Regions from separate parts of the Homo sapiens genome. Here all the other regions are linked to region 1. Evidence: promoter capture Hi-C in 16 types of primary human blood cells and fetal thymus (Javierre and others, 2016). All regions are on one chromosome and are shown on one strand. The core of a region is centred on a gene start or on the middle of the fragment in contact, and the rest is flanking DNA. Distances in the headings are between cores, read along the strand shown.

Evidence for each region. Contacts are between HindIII fragments. The CHiCAGO score rates a contact against its expected background, and 5 or more counts as called.
Region 2: a contact is called between a fragment that was not itself captured here and the fragment with the promoter of AGAP2 in region 1, in 1 of 17 cell types (M2 macrophages). The highest score is 5.5, in M2 macrophages.
Region 3: a contact is called between a fragment that was not itself captured here and the fragment with the promoter of AGAP2 in region 1, in 12 of 17 cell types (M1 macrophages, erythroblasts, M2 macrophages and 9 more). The highest score is 19.4, in M1 macrophages.
Region 4: the fragment with the promoter of DCTN2 here is called in contact with the fragment with the promoter of AGAP2 in region 1 in 10 of 17 cell types (M1 macrophages, M2 macrophages, M0 macrophages and 7 more); the score reaches 11.2 in M1 macrophages.
Region 5: a contact is called between a fragment that was not itself captured here and the fragment with the promoter of AGAP2 in region 1, in 12 of 17 cell types (naive CD8 T cells, naive CD4 T cells, M1 macrophages and 9 more). The highest score is 8.0, in naive CD8 T cells.

Annotation. Positions count from the first base shown.
Region 1 is chr12:57,737,284-57,740,724 of GRCh38, reverse strand. AGAP2 (ArfGAP with GTPase domain, ankyrin repeat and PH domain 2) reads left to right here and starts at 1,983. Exons shown (of 19, transcript NM_001122772.3): 1 at 1,983-3,441. The coding sequence starts at 2,479. RefSeq lists a silencer at 2,611-2,830. The HindIII fragment of the contact is 3,748 bases long and covers 1-3,441 here.
Region 2 is chr12:57,878,338-57,881,936 of GRCh38, reverse strand. The region is part of intron 1 of LOC283387 (a long non-coding RNA gene); the gene reads left to right. The region is part of intron 1 of LOC124902948 (a long non-coding RNA gene); the gene reads right to left. Among named protein-coding and RNA genes, the nearest start is that of CTDSP2, 33 kb to the right of the region's middle. The HindIII fragment of the contact is 2,613 bases long and covers 320-2,932 here.
Region 3 is chr12:57,563,421-57,567,092 of GRCh38, reverse strand. It overlaps KIF5A (kinesin family member 5A), which reads right to left. Exons shown (of 29, transcript NM_004984.4): 2 at 3,567-3,654; 3 at 3,400-3,473; 4 at 2,881-2,985; 5 at 2,585-2,633; 6 at 2,120-2,175. Among named protein-coding and RNA genes, the nearest start is that of KIF5A, 15 kb to the right of the region's middle. The HindIII fragment of the contact is 4,556 bases long and covers 2-3,672 here.
Region 4 is chr12:57,545,928-57,549,517 of GRCh38, reverse strand. DCTN2 (dynactin subunit 2) reads left to right here and starts at 2,326. Exons shown (of 14, transcript NM_001261413.2): 1 at 2,326-2,490; 2 at 3,422-3,490. The coding sequence starts at 2,455. RefSeq lists an enhancer at 2,058-2,197. The HindIII fragment of the contact is 9,827 bases long and covers 1-3,590 here.
Region 5 is chr12:57,525,242-57,528,532 of GRCh38, reverse strand. MBD6 (methyl-CpG binding domain protein 6) reads right to left here. Exons shown (of 13, transcript NM_052897.4): 6 at 2,145-3,185; 7 at 1,306-1,967; 8 at 873-1,026; 9 at 516-685; 10 at 1-386. Among named protein-coding and RNA genes, the nearest start is that of MBD6, 4.1 kb to the right of the region's middle. The HindIII fragment of the contact is 1,043 bases long and covers 1,238-2,280 here.

The sequences.
Region 1 (3,441 bases), core at 734-3,233:
CAGCCTTAGTGTTTGGAAAGGCAGACCAAGGGGGAGTGGGCCATGGGGCCTCCTAGGGAGAAACTCTAAGCCCCACCCCTCTCAAAAATAATAATGATAATAATAATAAAGGAGAAGAGCGGTTTAGGCCAGGCAGAAAAGCTGTGCTTAGCTCTGGAGAGGGAGGAGGGTGAGGAGGGGTGGAGGTGGAAATCCCTGAGAAGGCTTCACTCCTCATAAGTGATTTGTTTTACTCCTTCTCTAAGAATTAGTATTCTGTTCCCATTGAACATAAAGGAAAACCGAGGCCATCAAAGGAGGGAAGTTTAAGCCAGAGCCAACAATTCTCCTTCACCCTCTCCATCAAAAAACACTACTGAAGGGTCTCCTGTCCTGGGGATGGTGTCATCTTGGTTCTGTAGGGAGGGAGGGAGAAACTGCTGAGCCCCAGGACAGAACATTGGAGGGATTGGATACAGGCCTCTGGGAGAACAAAGGGCTCCTGGCATCCTGGCTCAGCCCCCCCACCCTCAGCCCCCCACCAGGCCAAGCACGCTGCGGGCTCCTGCCTCCAAGAGCCGCCCACGGCAGCACTTATTATAGTCTCAGCTGCGTCAGGAGGGTGGGACGCCAAATCAGGGGACTGCTGTGACTCCCCAAGTCCCGGGAAGGGGTCTCCAAGGCTGCAGAGAGACCTTCCTTCGCCCATCTTACCCCACCCCCAAGGGGTCTCAACCTCTTTTCCACTTTGGCCTAACCACTTCAGGATTCTCACCTGGCTGGAGGATAGAGAGCCTTGAACTCCAAGACCCCTAGAGGGGTGGGGGACACGGAGCAGACGGTTTCCATTCACTCTGCCTGCCTCCTCTTTAATCTTCTGAAAGAATCCCACTCAGCAAACCTCAGGAGACTGAAAGGGAACCCTGAAGAGGCCGGCTCTCACTGCCTCAACTGAAGGGTCCTTATACTTGGGGAGTGAAATCCTCCACCTGTGGGTAGCCAGGTGTCAGGGCAGTGCCTCCACTAATTCAGCATCCCGCGGTTGGTCCCCTACCCACCATACACACGGATTCCTCTCTGCTTCTGCCCGCTGTTTCTGAGGCACTCTTGGAGCTACGGTTGCTATGGAGACTGGATGCATTTTGGCATGGGGGGGTATCAGTCTAAGACACATCCTTCTCCCTCCTCCTAGAGCTGGAGCCTTTGACTTACCCTGTGGCCTGGGCTCCTCCAGCACTCAGATCTCTCCCTTCTCTCCTACCCTGCTAAGTTCCATGTTTGTCCCCATCCCTGGGGAACATTTTCCAAGTTCACTTTGGGACAGTCGAGCTCAAGTCTTGGCCCCGTCAAAGTATTAAATGTGGTGGTGTGAGTGGGAAAGGGAGCTGGGTCATGAGAACGGGAACCGTCCAGGTACCTGGGGGAGACAAGAGATCCTGGGGGAAGGGATTTCAGGGCCCCCACTTTCCCACTTCATCTTCCCCAGAATTGGCAGTGACCCTGGGTTTGCTCTGTTTACCGCGGCCCCTGTCCACCCAATAGATCGATTTTCACCCTTATCCCTAAATGCCATACCTCACAATCGCGCTTCCTAACCTTGGTGCGCGAGAGGAGGGGGCTAGGTTGTTGGAGGAGGTGAGTCCAAGTCCCAGGAAATCCAGCCCAGGATTTGGGAGAGAAATCCAGCCCTGGATTTTGCACCGCCCTCGCAGACATCGGTGCTGGTGGAGAAAAGGTGGGGGGGAGATAGGGTGGGGGGGCCTGGGGGCCGCCTCCTCCTCAATGTGAGGGGAGCGCCCGGACACAGCGCGCATCCGGACCAAGCCGAGCCCAGGCGAGGCCCCCGGACTCTTCGCCCGGATCTCACGCCCCTCCCCTCCCAGACCCCAGACCCGTGGGTTCCCACCCACCTCCCGTTCCCTCTTTCCTCCCCCGCCGCCTCCTGTATCTCCATCCCCAGCATCCTCCCCGCGCCCCTGCGAATCCCCCGCACGGCCAGCCCCACTAGCTTCCCACCCTCCTCTAGACCCTCTTTCCGACCGCATCCGCGGCCCCTGTCCCTTGAGTCCCAATTCCCCGCCCCTGCCTCCCCCGCACAGGTTCGTTTCCCCTAGCCTCCGGTCCCCTTTTCTGCTCCCTTTTCCTCTCTCTCCCCCATTTGCCCCCACTACTGTCCTCCCCGCCCTCCCCCACCCATCTCAGCGCCCCCACCCAGGCCGGGGTGGACGGTCCGGCGCGCCTCCCTGGAGCAGCACCAAGGTCCCGGGGCTCCAAGAGGGTGGGGGCGCAGGGCGGGGAGCATGGGGAGGGGGCGCCCCATGTGATGGGAGGGGGGCGCAAGCGGAGGCGGCGGAGGCGGCGGCGACAGCGGAGCCGGGCCGGGGGCTCAGCGGGGTCCGGGGGCTGGGGGCAGCGAGCAGGGCGGCCCCATGGCCGGGCCCCCCTGAGGCAGTCCGGGGGAGTCCCCTCCCCTCCCCAGCTCGGGGGTCTCCGGGCCCCATGAGCCGGGGCGCGGGCGCGCTTCAGCGCCGGACAACGACCTACCTCATCTCGCTGACCCTGGTTAAGCTCGAGTCGGTGCCTCCGCCGCCGCCTTCTCCGTCTGCGGCCGCGGCCGGCGCCGCCGGTGCCAGAGGCTCCGAGACTGGGGATCCTGGCAGCCCCCGAGGCGCGGAGGAGCCGGGCAAGAAGCGGCACGAACGTCTCTTCCACCGGCAGGATGCGCTGTGGATCAGCACGAGCAGCGCGGGCACCGGGGGCGCGGAGCCCCCAGCCCTGTCCCCGGCTCCGGCCAGTCCGGCCCGCCCAGTCTCCCCCGCTCCCGGCCGCCGCCTCTCCCTCTGGGCCGTCCCTCCGGGACCCCCGCTCTCCGGGGGACTGAGCCCCGACCCCAAGCCTGGGGGCGCCCCCACCTCCTCCCGGCGCCCCCTGCTCAGCAGCCCGAGCTGGGGCGGCCCGGAGCCCGAAGGCCGGGCGGGCGGCGGCATCCCTGGCTCATCCTCTCCGCACCCTGGCACCGGCAGCCGGAGGCTCAAGGTGGCGCCTCCTCCGCCGGCTCCCAAGCCTTGCAAGACCGTGACCACGAGTGGAGCCAAAGCCGGCGGGGGCAAGGGCGCGGGTAGCCGCCTGTCATGGCCCGAAAGCGAGGGCAAGCCCAGGGTCAAGGGGTCAAAGAGCAGCGCCGGGACTGGAGCTTCGGTCTCTGCCGCCGCCACCGCCGCCGCCGCCGGGGGAGGGGGCTCTACAGCTTCGACCTCTGGTGGGGTCGGGGCTGGGGCTGGAGCCCGAGGGAAGTTGTCCCCTCGGAAAGGCAAGAGTAAGACCTTGGACAACAGTGACTTGCATCCGGGACCGCCTGCCGGCTCTCCTCCTCCGCTAACCCTCCCACCAACTCCGAGTCCAGCCACTGCTGTCACCGCTGCTTCCGCGCAGCCCCCCGGGCCTGCACCTCCAATCACTCTG
Region 2 (3,599 bases), core at 377-2,876, 140 kb before region 1:
TAACTAAACAATGATAAGACCATACCTATAACTGGCATTTACTATTAGACTCACCATAAACTATGGGCACTGACACTGACAGCTGTCTCTGGGCACCTCCCTCATCCTGAGCTGACCTGGCAATGTCCAGATCACTCCCAAGAATGTGACTTTAAATATCCTGACCTTGACAATCCCAAGGCCTTCAATGGAGGGTGTGTGGCACTGAGACATATGAGTCATTCAAGGTGCCAGAAAAGTGTCACTGCTTCACTAAGGCTTTCAGAATACTCCCTGTCCTAAGGTGAGATGGAGGAAAGAAAATAAACATGGAAAAGCTTAGTAAACACTCTCCCCAGGGTTTGTCACATTCTCTACCTCCCACAGATGTGTCCAGAACTCTCTGACTATACAAGGGACACTGACAGAGGATCCCAGGCACACTCACTGCCAGGTCAGTGTCTGGACAAAGCAATCCTAATAGAGCCAAGGCAGAATTAAACATGATCAAGAAGTAAGGGAGCAGGGACTCAGGGCAAATCAGTTCCTGGAATCATAGTCTGCTTACTTCCCAAAACCACCTTGGTTCCAGAAACCCATGCTTTTCAGGTCTAATAGACAAGGCTGTGCTGAGCTCTCAGTCTGGGCCCTACACAGTGCACAGATACTATCAGGACAAAATGAGTCCTGCTGATCATCCCTAAAGAATTTAATACTAGGCCAGGCGCCGTGACTCATGCCTGTAATCCCAGCACTTTGGGAAGCCGAGGCCGGCGGATCACGAGGTCAGGAGTTCGAGACCAGCCTGACCAATGTGGTGAAACCCCGTCTCTACTAAAAATACAAAAACTAAAAACATATATATATATTAGCCGGGTGTGGTGGCATGGGCCTGTAATCCCAGCTACTGGGGAGGCTGAGGCAGGAGAATTGCTTGAACCCAGGAGGCAGAGGTTGCAGTGAGCCGAGATCATACCACTGCACTCCAGCCTGGGCAACAGAGCGAGATTCCGTCTCAAAAAAAAAAAGTAATAATTTCCTTCAATGCAGTGTTTCCCAAAGCGGGGCTCCCTGGCCACCCACATGTGGATCATCAAGGATATTTGTTAATAATGCAGATCCCCAAGCCCAATCCCAGATGGAAGGAATCAGATTCTTTGGGGATGAAGCCCAATAATCTGTATTTTTAATAAACGTCTTCTGTACACAAAAGTGTGAGAACCACTGTTTTAATGTTCACAGAAGACATTAAAGCAGTGGTTCTGTGAAGACAAATTCGTTGTGCTTTGGGACCTGAGAATTATGTTAGGAGTTGAAGTCTCTAGCCATTGTCATCTGAGCTTGAAGTTTCTTTGTGGGCTTCAAGTTTATTTGCTTCTGGTTGATTCTATGAGCTAGTATATGAAACCAGAGCTCCCCTTGAGACAGAGTTTCATTCTTGTTGCCCAGGCTGGAGTGCAATGGCATGATCTCGGCTCCCTGCAACCTCCACCTCCCAGGTTCAAGGAATTTTCCTGCCTCAGCCTCTCGAGTAGCTGGGATTACAGGTAGGCGCCACCAAGCCCAGCTAATTTTTGTATTTTTAGTAGAGATGGGGTTTCTCCATGGTGGTCAGTCTGGTCTAGAACTCCCGACCTCAGGCGATCCGCCCGCCTCCGCCTCCTAAAGTGCTGAGATTACAGGCGTGAGCCACCGCGCCCGGCCAAAACCAGAGCTCTTTGTGAGACTAGTCTTTGAGTCTGGAGTCTGGCCTGGGTATTTCTTTCACTAAGCAAATAGGTCTTAGTTCTCTTCCCAAATACCCAGCCTTACGTTTAGTCTCAAACTGTACCTTTGAACAACTTGAAGAAACTGCCTGGGAGGCACTCTAAATCTGGTCGTTGCCAATAGGCTGTGTCCCACTTACATCTGTCATGGAAGTTATGGTCACCTTTGTTTTAGGAGGAATAAAAAGCAGGAGGTGCTTGGGAAAGGGCTAGGGATAAGCCATCAACCATATCCCATATCCTATATCCCATATTCCATATCCTATAGCCCACATCCATATCCCATAGTCCATAGCCCATATCCCACATCCATAGCCCATATCTCATATCCCATATCCCACATCCATACCCCATATCTCATATCCCACAGCCCATATCCCATGTCCCATATTCCATATCCCATATCCCACATCCATAGCCCATATCCATATCCCATATCCATATCCCACATCCATAGCCCATAGCCCATATCCATATCCCACATCCATATCCCACATCAATATCCCATATCCCATATCCCACATCCATATCCCATATTCCATATCCCATATCCCACATCCGTAGCCCATAGCCCATATCCATATCCCACATCCATAGCCCATAGCCCATATCCATATTCCACATCCATATCCCATATCCCACATCCATATCCCATATGGCATAGCCCATATCCCATATCCATATCCCACATCCACATCCCATATCCCATATCCATATCCCACATCCCATATCCATATCCCACATCCATATCCCATAGCCTATATCCATATCCCATACCTCATATCCATGTCCCATAGCCCATATTCATATCCCATAGACCATATCCATATCCCATGTCCCATGTCCCATGTTCCATATCCCATATCCCATATCTTGTATCCCATATCCCATATCTCATATCCCATATCCCATACAATGCAATCCCCCATCCCTGTTTCTGTTCACATTAGGTTAGTGCAAAAGTAATTGCAGTTTTGCAATTCTTTTCGATGGCAAAAAACGCAATTACTTTTGCACTAACCTAATACTAACATACCTTGGGACAAAGTTTTCAGGGCTTTCTAGTCCTCTCAGCCATTTTTTTTTTTTTTTTTTTTTTTTTTTACCGTAGGCAGAAAGGGCTTCTCTTATCAAAGCTGTATTTTCTTCCTTCTCTGTTTTGGGGTAAGCTAGTTTGAACATAAGCTTACCCTTTTTTTTTTTTTTTTTTTTTGAGACGGAGTCTCGCTCTGTCACCCAGGCTGGAGGGCAGTGGCATGATCTCAGCTCACTGCAACCTCCACCTCCTGGGTTCAAGAGATTCTCCTGCCTCAGCCTCCCGAGTAGCTGGGATTACAGGTGTGCACCACCATGCTGGGCTAATTTTTGTATTTTTCGTAGAGACGGGGTTTCACCATGCTGATCAGGCTGGCCTCGAACTCCTGACCTCGTGATCCGCCCACCTTGGTCTCCCAAAGTGCTGGGATTACAGGCGTGAGCCACTGCACCAGGCCAGCAACTTACCTTTTTACAGTACTTTATTAATATTAACAAGAAGGAGCCAACCCAATCCAACACTCTACATTTTTCTACTAAGTAGTGTACCGCTACAGCCGCAGATTGTGTAATCTGCACCCCAAGTCACAACAGGAAACTGTATAGCTAATTAGATGGCCAATTTCTCAGCCGAAAATGTAGGGGTTCTTTATCCTTCATCTTACTTCTTTGGTTGGACAATCCCATTTTTAGGGCCTGTCTCTTGAAACACCTTATGGAACTCATTTCTGTATCAGTTAGGAATCTTTAGGTTGCAGTAAACCAATCTCCAATTCAACTGGTTTAAACAATATGGAGAATTTATTGGCTCAATTTACT
Region 3 (3,672 bases), core at 1,030-3,529, 170 kb after region 1:
TTTGTTTTTTAAGTTTGTATTTATTTATTTATTTTTATTATTATTATTTTCTTTTGAGATGGAGTCTCGCTCTGCCCAGGCTGGAGTGCAGTGTCAAGAATCTCAGCTCACTGCAACCTCCACCTCCCAGGTTCAAGCGATTCTCTTGCCTCAGCCTCCAGAGTAGCTGGGATTACAGGCATGAGCCAACACGCCCGGCTAATTTTTGTATTTTTAGTAGAGACGGGGTTTCACCATGTTGGTCAGGCTGGTCTCAAAGTCCTGACCTCGTGATCCGCCTGCCTTGGCCTCCCAAAGTGCTGGGATTACAGGCTTGAGCCACCATGCCCTGCTTTGTATTTATTTTTATCTTACGTATTTACTACTTTTTTGAAACAGTGGCGGGCATGGTGGCTCACGCCTGTAATCCCAGCACTTTGGTTTGGGAGGCCAATGTGGGTGGATCACCTGAGGTCAGGAGTTCGTGACCAGCCTGGCCAACATGGCAAAATCCCATCTCCACTAAAAATACAAAATTAGCCAGACGTGGTGGCACATGCCTGTAATTCCAGCTACTCAGGAGGCTGAGGCAGGAGAATCACTTGAACTCGGGAGGCTGAGGTTGCAGTAAGCCAAGATCGGGCGCCACTGTACCCCAGCCTGGGCAACAAGAGAGAAACTCTGTCTCAAAAAAAAAAAAACACTGTCGCAGCCAGGTGCAGTGGCTTATGCCTGTAATGCCAGCACACTGGGAGGCTGAGGTGGGCGGATCACCTGAGGTCAGGAGTTCGAGACTAGCCTGGCTAACATGGTGAAACCCCATCTCTACTAAAAATACAAAAATAAGTGGGCCTGGTGGCAGGCACCTATAATCCCATATGCTTGGGAGGCTGAGGCAGGAGAATCACTTGAACCCAGGAGGCAGAGGTTGCAGTGAGCCAAGATCATGCCATTGCACTACAGCCTGGGTGACAGAGTGAGAATCTGTCTCCAAAAACAAAAACAAACAAACAAAAAAAACCACTGTCTCTCTACTACACAGGCTGGAGTGCAGTGGCACTATCATGGCTCACTGCAACCTCAAACTCTTGAGCTCAAGCAATTCTCCCGCCTCAGCCTCCTGAGTAGCTGGGACTACAGGTGTGTGCCACCATGCCTGACAAAAATTTTTTTTTTTTTTTAAACAAGAGACTCAGCATAGTGGCTCATGCCTGTAATTCCAGCACTTTGGGAGGCTGAGGCAGGTGGATCACCTGAGGTCAGGAATTAGAGACCAGCCTGGCCAACATGGTGAAACCCCGTCTCTACTAAAAATACTAAAATCAGCCAGGCGTGGTGGCACATGCCTGTAGTCCCAGCTACTCGGGAGCCTGACGCAGGAGAATCGTTTGAACCCAGGACAGGGAGGTTGCAGTGACCCTAGGTCGAGCCACTGCACTCCAGCCTGGGCAACAGAGTGAGACTCTGTCTCCAAAAAAAAAAAAAAAAAAAATTAGATTAAATAAGAGAGACGGGTCTTGCTATGTTGGCCAGGCTGATCTTGAACTCCTCAAGTGATCCTCCCACCTCAGCCTTCTAAAGTGTTGGGATTACAGGCATTTCTTCCAGTAAACTTTGATTTGCAAATTAAATTGCATGCACACTGACCAATGACCTTTCAAGACAGTATCTTTTCTTTTCTTCTTTTTTTTTAAAGACAGGTTCTCACTCTGTCGCCCAGGCTGGAGTGCAGTGGCGCAATCTCGGCTCACCGCAACCTCTGCCTCCCAGGTTCAAGAGATTCTCCTGCTTCAGTGTCCCAAATAGCTGGGATTACAAGCATGTGCCACCACGCCCAGTTAATTTTTTGTATTTTTAGTAGAAACGGGGTTTCACTATATTGGCCAGGCTGGTCTTGAACTCCCGGCCTCAAGTGATCCACCCACCTCAGCCTCCCAAAGTGCTGGGATTACAGGTATGAGCCACCATGCCCAGCCAAGACAGTATCTTTTCTGATCCCCTAGACTCTCCCTGGCCCCTAGGCACATCTCATTCCTCCAGGATATCCACCCTCCAACTTCAGGGTCACTGACCTATGCTCCTCCCCCACCAACATTCTCAATACACTGGCCCCACATAGGTGCCCCACACCCACTCTCACCTTGACAAATGGCACCCGGTTCTTGTCCTCGTGCACGGACAGATTTGTCTTGGTCACTGAATCAAAAGAATGCAGGGTAAGCAAGACTAGTACTTCCACCGCCCCCATCTGCACCTTGCAGTCAGCTCAGATGGTGGTTTTCTTCTCTGTGCTAAAGGAAGACTCTCCCTGTGAAGCCTAAACTCCCTGCACGAGCTGAAGGCTCAGTTCCTCCTCCTTCTCCTCCTCAGGGCTCCTGCTCCTCGGCCCCAGATCCTCTCGAACTGTTTATATGTAGTCCTTGGCTGCTAAGCTCATCTCCTGACCTTCTCAGTTTTTGGAAATTCTGGTAAACGGGGCCAAAAGACTTGGGTGCTGTGTGCCCTCTGCATCTCTTGTCAATTGGTACCTAATTCCAAATGCAATGTGAGCTTTCTTTTCTCCACCCTCCTCACACACCCTCATCCACTGGGACAAAACACTCACCATCCAGAAGGTCACGAATTTTGTCCAGGTAAATTTCAAAGTAAGAAACCTGGTTAAGAAGAAAGAAGGAGTGTGAAGTAAAGAGGGCCTATCTTAAATCTAGTTCAGGAATCCCATACTAATGTGACCTGCTCAAACGGTGGTGGGAGGAAAAGAACAGAAGAGAACATCTTGACAAAGAACTCTGGTAACCGGAAAGGGAGTCAAGTTGGGGAGCCCAGGCTCTTCAGTGGGAAGATTTTAGATCTTCCCCTCCCAGTCCCCATCTGAATGCCCAGCTGTCGTGCCCTGGTCACCTTGATGTGGAACTCAAGGTTCTCATCCATGGAGTAGATGTGGTTGAAGATGTCTCGGGCAATTCGAGGAATGATTCCCATCAGCTGAGGGTCGTGCAGCTTTCCCTGGCGAGTGAAGGTATTTGAGAGTGAAGCTGGGGCTCAGGGAGAATGAGACAACTCAGATGTATGCAGGTGAACACCAAGGCAAGAGTCAATAAGAAGAACATCCTAAGTTAGGAGATGGTCACCACCATGTCTGCCTTTTAGAGGAGCAAGGAGATAATTGAGTAGCCCTTTGGACTTCCATTGCTTTTCCCGATCAAAAGAAGACTGGAGTAGTGGAAAGGATGATCCACTGCAGTGGGTTGGAGGGATTCCATTAAACTTCCCCTAATATTGCCCTTCAGTTCATCCTCTGTACTCATCTATCTGCCTCTGGACCAGGCAATCCTTGATTCCTAGACCTTCCCCCACTGAGATTCCCTGATCTTCCATTAACACTCCTAGCCCCTCAACCACCAAAGCCAGAACCCTCACCTCCATGGTATGTGTTTTCCCTGAGGATGTCTGTCCATAAGCAAAAATGGTGCCATTGTAGCCAGCAAGGACATCTGGAAGAGACAGTAGAGAAAGAGTACTGGTGGAGATAGGTCGGGTAGGAAATGGGGTGCTGAGAAGAGACATTCTAAAAAGAAATCTATTACCTTTGACAATCTGCATGGCACATGCATGATAAACTTGCTCTTGAGTCGTGTTTGGGGGGAATACACGGTCAAAAACATATGGCTTCCCCTGGAATGAAAATAAAAG
Region 4 (3,590 bases), core at 1,077-3,576, 190 kb after region 1:
CCTTCCACATCCAAAGGTGCACTATACTGTCTCCCCAACGTACACACCAGGTCCCCAGTTTCAGGGAAGATAAACTCCCATTCTGGGTTATGGGAATTCAAAAGCAGATACAATACTTATTTTTGTGTCCTAGGCTGAGGATGGGAGGAAGATGGGTGGGAAACATCTTTGCAAGAGAAAGGGAGTCAGAAAGCAGTGAAGGAGGGGCAATGATGGGGATGGGTAAGGCCAGAGAGACTTTGAAGTCTGAGGCAAAGCCGGCATTTGGGTTTCAGGCAAATTCAGATACCTACGGGAGTGTGTGTTTTCTGTCTCAGTAACCATTGGAGGATAGAGTCCCAATACTTCAGCCCCCTTCCCTGGCCAAAAAAAAAAAGGTGTGGGGGAAGAAAAACGAAAGAAATGCCAAGCCCAGAGATTCCTTGTCCTTCCTTCCTTTGGGTCAGACTCCTGCTGCAGCCCCTGGAAAGAACCACCAAGAAGCTGGCCAAATTGATTTTTCTCCATGTCACAGGCCTCTGCTGGCCAACAGAGAGTTGGACTGCAGGAGTTGAGGTTCTAGGCAAAGAGGAAGGGCAGGGTGGATGGGAGAAGGAGGAGGAAAGGAAAGTTCTGCTCAGCAACTGTCTGGTGAGTGGTTAAGGTCACTTAAGACACTATGGGACAAAAGTAAGAGGCTGATAGCCTGGCCAGACAAGACCTAACTATTCAGAACTCAGGGGGTTTCCCACATTGGGGCTACACCTCTAACCTACCTTGAATCTTAAGGGAACTGAAAGAAAAGAGTCCAACATAAGGAATGGGACAGGAAAGCTGTAGGACTATGGAGAAAGGGATAGAGGCTTGGGGAGGAGCCAGGAGAAAGAAAGACAACGAGTTCCGAACTCAGGAACTCTCTAGTCACTTGGTTTGGCACAATTTCTAAGTGTTGCAGCATCCTGCAAGCTCAGGAAACATCCTGGGAAACATCCCATCCTTGGGTCCCCAGGGGCTCCAAGGTGGCATCTTTAGTAAAGGGGTTTCAAAATGCCAGTCCATGGAGGGTCACTGGTCAGAGACAAAAGTTCACTGAGTATGCCCTCACCTCCAAAAGAACAATGGTGAGTTTTTTTTTAATATAAAGATGGATTTGATAAGTTTCAAAGGACTATCTTTTATTCTGAGTGTGTCCTTCTTGCTTTTCTACCAAGTAATGATGGTGACAGTAAATAATAGGTTTTCTATTTGTAATATACTTACTTGATAAAATAAAAAGGCAAATCTTCAAGGTTTGTAGTTGTTTTAATTTTATTGAACGATGAAATTTAAAAGTCTGAGAACGGAAGGTAAGGTTGGTGAATAGGTACAAAAAATTAGAAAGTATAATAAGACCTACTATTTGATGGCACAATAGGGTGACTATAGTCAAGAATAACTCAACTGTACATTTTAAAATAACTTAAAGAGTAATTGGATTATTTGTAACTTAAAGGATAAATGCTTGAGAGGATGGATACCCTCTTCTCCATGATGTGCTTATTTCACATTGCATGCCTGTATCAAAATATCTCATGTGTCCCATAAATACATACACCTACTGTGTACCCACAAAATTGAAAAAATTGAAAAATAAATAAAAGTCTGAGAACTATTAACGAAGTAGTTAAGAGCCCAGAGAGTGTTCAGACAGACATGGAGACACCACTTACCTACTTATGAACTTCAGATAGAATTGCCAGATTTGAAAAACAAAAAACAAAAACAGGATGCCCAGTTAAATGTGAATTTCAGATACTTAATTTTTGGGGGGTTAGTATACCCACACACCACACACCACACACACACACCTACTTATTATCTGAAATTCAAATTATCTGAAAGCCCTTACTTGAGAAGATTGCCTAACTTTTTCATTCCTAACATACACTACGCGTTTACTAAATTTTACTTCTTGTTTTTATTTTGTTTTTATAATACACAGTATCAAGCAAACTTCTTGTTTTTGAAACCCCGGCTGTGTCACAGTATGACTACCTGTATCATTTAATCTAGTCATTTTATTCCTGGGAGCCCCAAACAGGAATTATAAATGTTCTTTCACTGACTTGCTGTAAAAGTGAGAGAAAAGGCTGTATGAAATAGCTCCCCAAGGTTCGTTATTGTCGCTCCCCGCCCAAGCTCCAGTACACCAAAACTACACATCCCACAATCCTAGGCGGCGTCCCCTGGCCATTACCTCATTCCCTGGCCTCGTTCTCCCCAATCCCGGCCTCTCCAGGGGTGTGGCAGCAGGGCTGTTCTCGCGACTTTTGCTTTACCCTTCTGCTGTGCTACTGCTGTCGCGAGACTTCCTGCTCATCTGCCGCTCCCTTTGCCGCCGCCTTAGCCCGGGACCCGAACCCAGCCTCTCCCCTACCCGAACACCGGCCCCGGCTCCACCGAGGCCCGGGTCCCCCAGCCCGTCTCGCCGCCGCCATGGCGGACCCTAAATACGCCGACCTTCCCGGCATTGTGAGTACAGGACCGGCCCCGGCTCCCCAGGACCGCGCCCCCGACCTCCCAAGGACCCCCAGCAGAAACCAGCCCGCGACCCCTCCCGCCTGCAGCCCATCCTCCGCCCAAGGGCTCCCGCCGCTCGTTCTCCGATCGGCCTCAGCACCCCCCGAACTCTTCTGACCCGACTGGGCCGGGCCGCCGGACGGCGCACCAGGCCCCCTTTCCGGCAGTCGCCGGTAGCTCGGCCCAGAAATCGACTCCGGGTACTGACCTCTTGTGCCTGAGTTTTTCCACCATCCGTGTCAACGCCTCCCATGTCCCCCCCAAATCTCTCCATAAGACCCCATCGCTACCCCAGACACACACACCAGACCACTTAACGATGGCCTTCATCCTGCCAAGGAAGAGGTTCTGCCATCTGGCAGAACCCTCTTGTGCCAGATGGGGAGCTCTATCCTTGAGGGAACCTATGCCCTCCCCCAGCCCCCACTCCCATGACAATCCTGGCGTGTACCTTCCTTTTGTGCTGCCCTGCCTGCTTCTCAAGGTGAGGGTTGGGACACAGGACCTTGAGTACTAAGGTCCTGAGTCACTCTCAATCCTTGTGCCAGGGTGGTGGTGTACGGGGCCTAATTGGAGGATAGCCTTCACCTTCTTTGGCAATAGTGATTGCCAAGGACCTGCCCGCCTCTAGATTTAGGGTAACATCGTTGCTATCACTTACACTCACCGTTTACTGTCAGGTCCCAATTGTTTCCGCTGTCATCCCTACCCCTTGAGACATGGGAACTGACATACTGTTGACTCACGGGGCAGGTGGAGGAGAAAGGACAGAACCCTGACATCACACCCCGCCTTCTCTGTTAGCTTATTCAAATGGAGTGGGGGAAGGGGTGTTGTTGGATGCTGGGTAGTGAGGTTGGGTGGTCACTGCTTCTACCTGCAGGCCAGGAATGAGCCAGATGTTTATGAAACTAGCGACCTACCTGAGGATGATCAAGCGGAGTTCGATGCGGTAAGAATGTGTGCTGCCACAGACTCCTCCGGACTCTGACCTTTCTCCCCTAGACAGGTCCTTCCCTTTCTCGGGGGAGCTACAGCAATAAGCGGGTATG
Region 5 (3,291 bases), core at 510-3,009, 210 kb after region 1:
GGGGGTGGATCCTTGGGCTCAGCACCCCCTTCAGCCAGCTCCCCATTATGCTGCCAATGGTGGGTTCTTCTTGGGGACCTTTCCATTTGTCCATTGAAGCCACCACGTGTCCCCCATTTGAGGGCCAGTCGGCCAGGCTCCCGCCGGCTGCCAGGCTTTCGGCCCCGGGCTGGCCTGGCCTCACCATTAATGCCCCTAAGTCCCCCTCCTCCCCTCCGGCCCCGTTTCCCTGACCCCCTCCCAGTGAGCAGCTCAGGGACTGGGGGGTCGGGAGAACCATGGGGTGGGGCTAAGGCACTGAGGGGAGGCCTGGCAGGCTCTGGTTCGAGGGCTGAGGCAGGGCTCTCGGGGGGTAGACAGGGGGCTTCTGGCTGCTCTGGAGGGATCTGCTGGCAAAAAAATAAGTTCTCAGTCAATCTCAAATACCGTCCCTCTTCTACTATAACTCAGAAAGCCCTAAATTTCCAGTTTGAGAAAAAATTATCTCCCTGACAAATATATGCCCACACCCTCACCTGGAGACTCTGTAGCAGGCAGGCTAGGGGACTAGAAGCCTCTGAGAGGGGTGGAGGAGCTCCCCCCCCAGGGAGGAGCTGCAGCCCCAACTGGCCAGAGAGAAGAGGGCCAGGAGGCTGCAACAGGCTGGGGAGGGCTCCAGGGCTGCTGGTCAGTGAAGACAGGTCACCTGTTGAGAAATTATAGTCAGGGGTCTCTCCCTAGGCAAACCAATTAGGCTGAGCAGACCTACTATTCTCTTTAGGCTTTATCCAGTGGCCAAAGACTTTCTTCCCCAATTTATTCAGCCACTACTCCCAAGTTTTACTCCTGCTTTTTCACACCAAGAGTGTGAATTCACACTCCCTCAGACTCACCCAGCAGGCTGGCACCCAGCAGAGGGCTAAGGAGTTGGGGGGGTCTCCCTGAGTTGGAGGGGGCCTTGCCCAGAGAGGAGGCCCCCGGGTCAGTAGTTGCCGTGGTGACACTGGAGGTAGGTGGTCCAGGTTGGGGGGCACTCAGGACACAGGGCTAAGAAAAAAGAATGATTCTAACACTTACGCGTGTAAAATACTCAACAGATTTATAGTGCTTTCACATCCACTATCTGACTGAAGCCTCAAGTGAGATAGGCCATGCTTATTAAATACAGACCCAATTCTTGCAGTCATCCTACCCCCAGCCAAGAACTAAGGCCTCCCCAAAGGCCCCAAGGAAGAGCTCAGGAATGAAACTGAAAGCTTTTGATTCCCAGCTCCCATCTCTTATTCTACATCTTGTTCTGTCCCACCTACTCACCCCCATCCTCACCTGGGGGGGTGTCCCCGAGGGGGGATCCAGGGTGGCAGCCAGCAGCGCAGAATTTAAAGCTATGAGGGTAGGGGGGGCTGAAAGTGGGGGGAAAAGTAGGGGGGACAGGTCTCCCAAGCCTGAAAATGGCTCCCCACTTGGACCCCCGGCTCCCTCTGCAGATCCCTCCCCATCCCCAGCTGTGGGGCCCAGAGCCAACAGGGGCAGGAAAGAGGCAAGGAGGTTGCTGGGAGGTGCTGAAGGAGGTGGAAGAAGGTCTGAGGGTGGTGGAGGAAGCAAGGAAGCCACCAAAAGCGAAGGCCCTTCAGGCTCTCCTGGGGCTAGGGGAGGACCAGGTCCTCCTGGTGGGGGTAGCAGGGGCTCAGGGGGAGGTTGTCCTCCTCCCCCAGTCAGCACACCAAATAAACTGTGGTTGAGCAATGGAGAAGGTGGAGGCTGCCCCAGACTCAGAGGGAGAGGCAAGGCCCCAAGCATCCCAGGGAAGCCAGCTCCACTCAGTGCCAGGCCCTGCTCAGGGCTGGGGAAAGGGAAAGCCTCTCCACCAGCCAGGGGAGGCAGAGGGCAGGCCGGGCCTGCCCCCATCCCCAGTCCTTCGGATGGGCTTTGAAGCACAGGGCTGGGGACTACTGGGGCTTTGGAGGCAGCTGGTGGGGCAGGGGCACCTGTAAAAGAGGAGAGAAATTCAGCTCAAGGGAGGCCCTTTCTCCCATCATCCAAAGAAGCCAACCTCCCTGCCCCCAACCCAGAAAACCCTCAAAGAGCTCTCTGAACATTCCCCTAAATGCCTTGGCTGCCTCTTTCCAGCCAGGATGAGGAAGGGCTCCACAATACTCACATACCTGGCACACTGCTGAGGCTGCCACTGGTGGTCCCAGGCAGGGAGGGCTGGATGGGGTGCCTGGGCTGGGGAGGGCTCCCTGAGGAGAGGGTTGGGGGAGGAGGAAGGTGTGCATCTGACCCCAAAAGGTTAAAGCTTCCATCAGAGTGGGAAGGGCCAGGGGTGGGGAGTCCCAGCAGGGACAGCACAGAAGGGAGAATTGGTTGGGATGGCTCCGGGAGAGAAAAGGGTTGGGGGACAGGAGCAGGGGCCCGAGGACGGCTCCGTCTAGGGGTTTGAGGGCCTCTCCCTTCTAGCAATCGAAATACAGTAGGGGGTCTGCGGGGACGACGCTGAGAGGGACGAAGTGATGAGGAGTGGGAAGCTGAGGGTGCCTGGGCACGGGGCCTTCGGCCCTGTAAAGTGCTGGGAGGGGGTAGTGGGGGATGCTGTGCCTTGGCCGCTGCAGAGAGTAGGCTGCTAGCAAGGAAGGGGGGTGCCCCAGGCCCCTCCACCGTGGGGGCCCCTCCCAGGGGCCCCAGGACCAGGGGCAGGTGCATAGTGGCTGAAGACACTGGTGGCTGAGAGGCAGGACCAGGGTGGGCGGGGAGATTATTGCTCGGGGGCAGGGGAGGGGGTGTTAAGGCATCACTACAGTGGAAGAGAGGAGGGTCTGAAGGTGGTGAGGAGGAGGCATGAGGGGCCGGAGGAGAGCCCAGGTCAGAGGGCACCAGGCTGGATCTGAGGGCAGCTCCCCAGTTGTATGAGGGAGCATTGAGGCTGATAGCAGGTGGAGGAGGTGGGGCTGGAGAGGGGGCATTGCCCCTTGGGAGGAAACGGGGGCTGCTACTGCCCCCAGAAGGGACTGGGTCAGCAAGCCTTGGGGGGAAAAGCCCCCCAGGGCCTGCTAGAGTGGGAAAGGCCTGGGAAACTGAGGGTGGTTCTGGGGGAAGGGAGCCAGGACCCCCATTAAGTGGAGTTGTAGGAGGAACTCGACAGGGAGGGCGGGCAGAGGGGGGCCCTGGGGACACAGTGTGGAACATTTGGGGGCTCGCTCCCTCTCCTGCAATAAATGAAAAATGAAGGGTCAGCCTGTGGCTCCCCTTCCAAAAACTCTTTTGTCTTCTCTAGTCCCATCTCCCACAAGTTCCCAACCTCCCTGTGCCCTC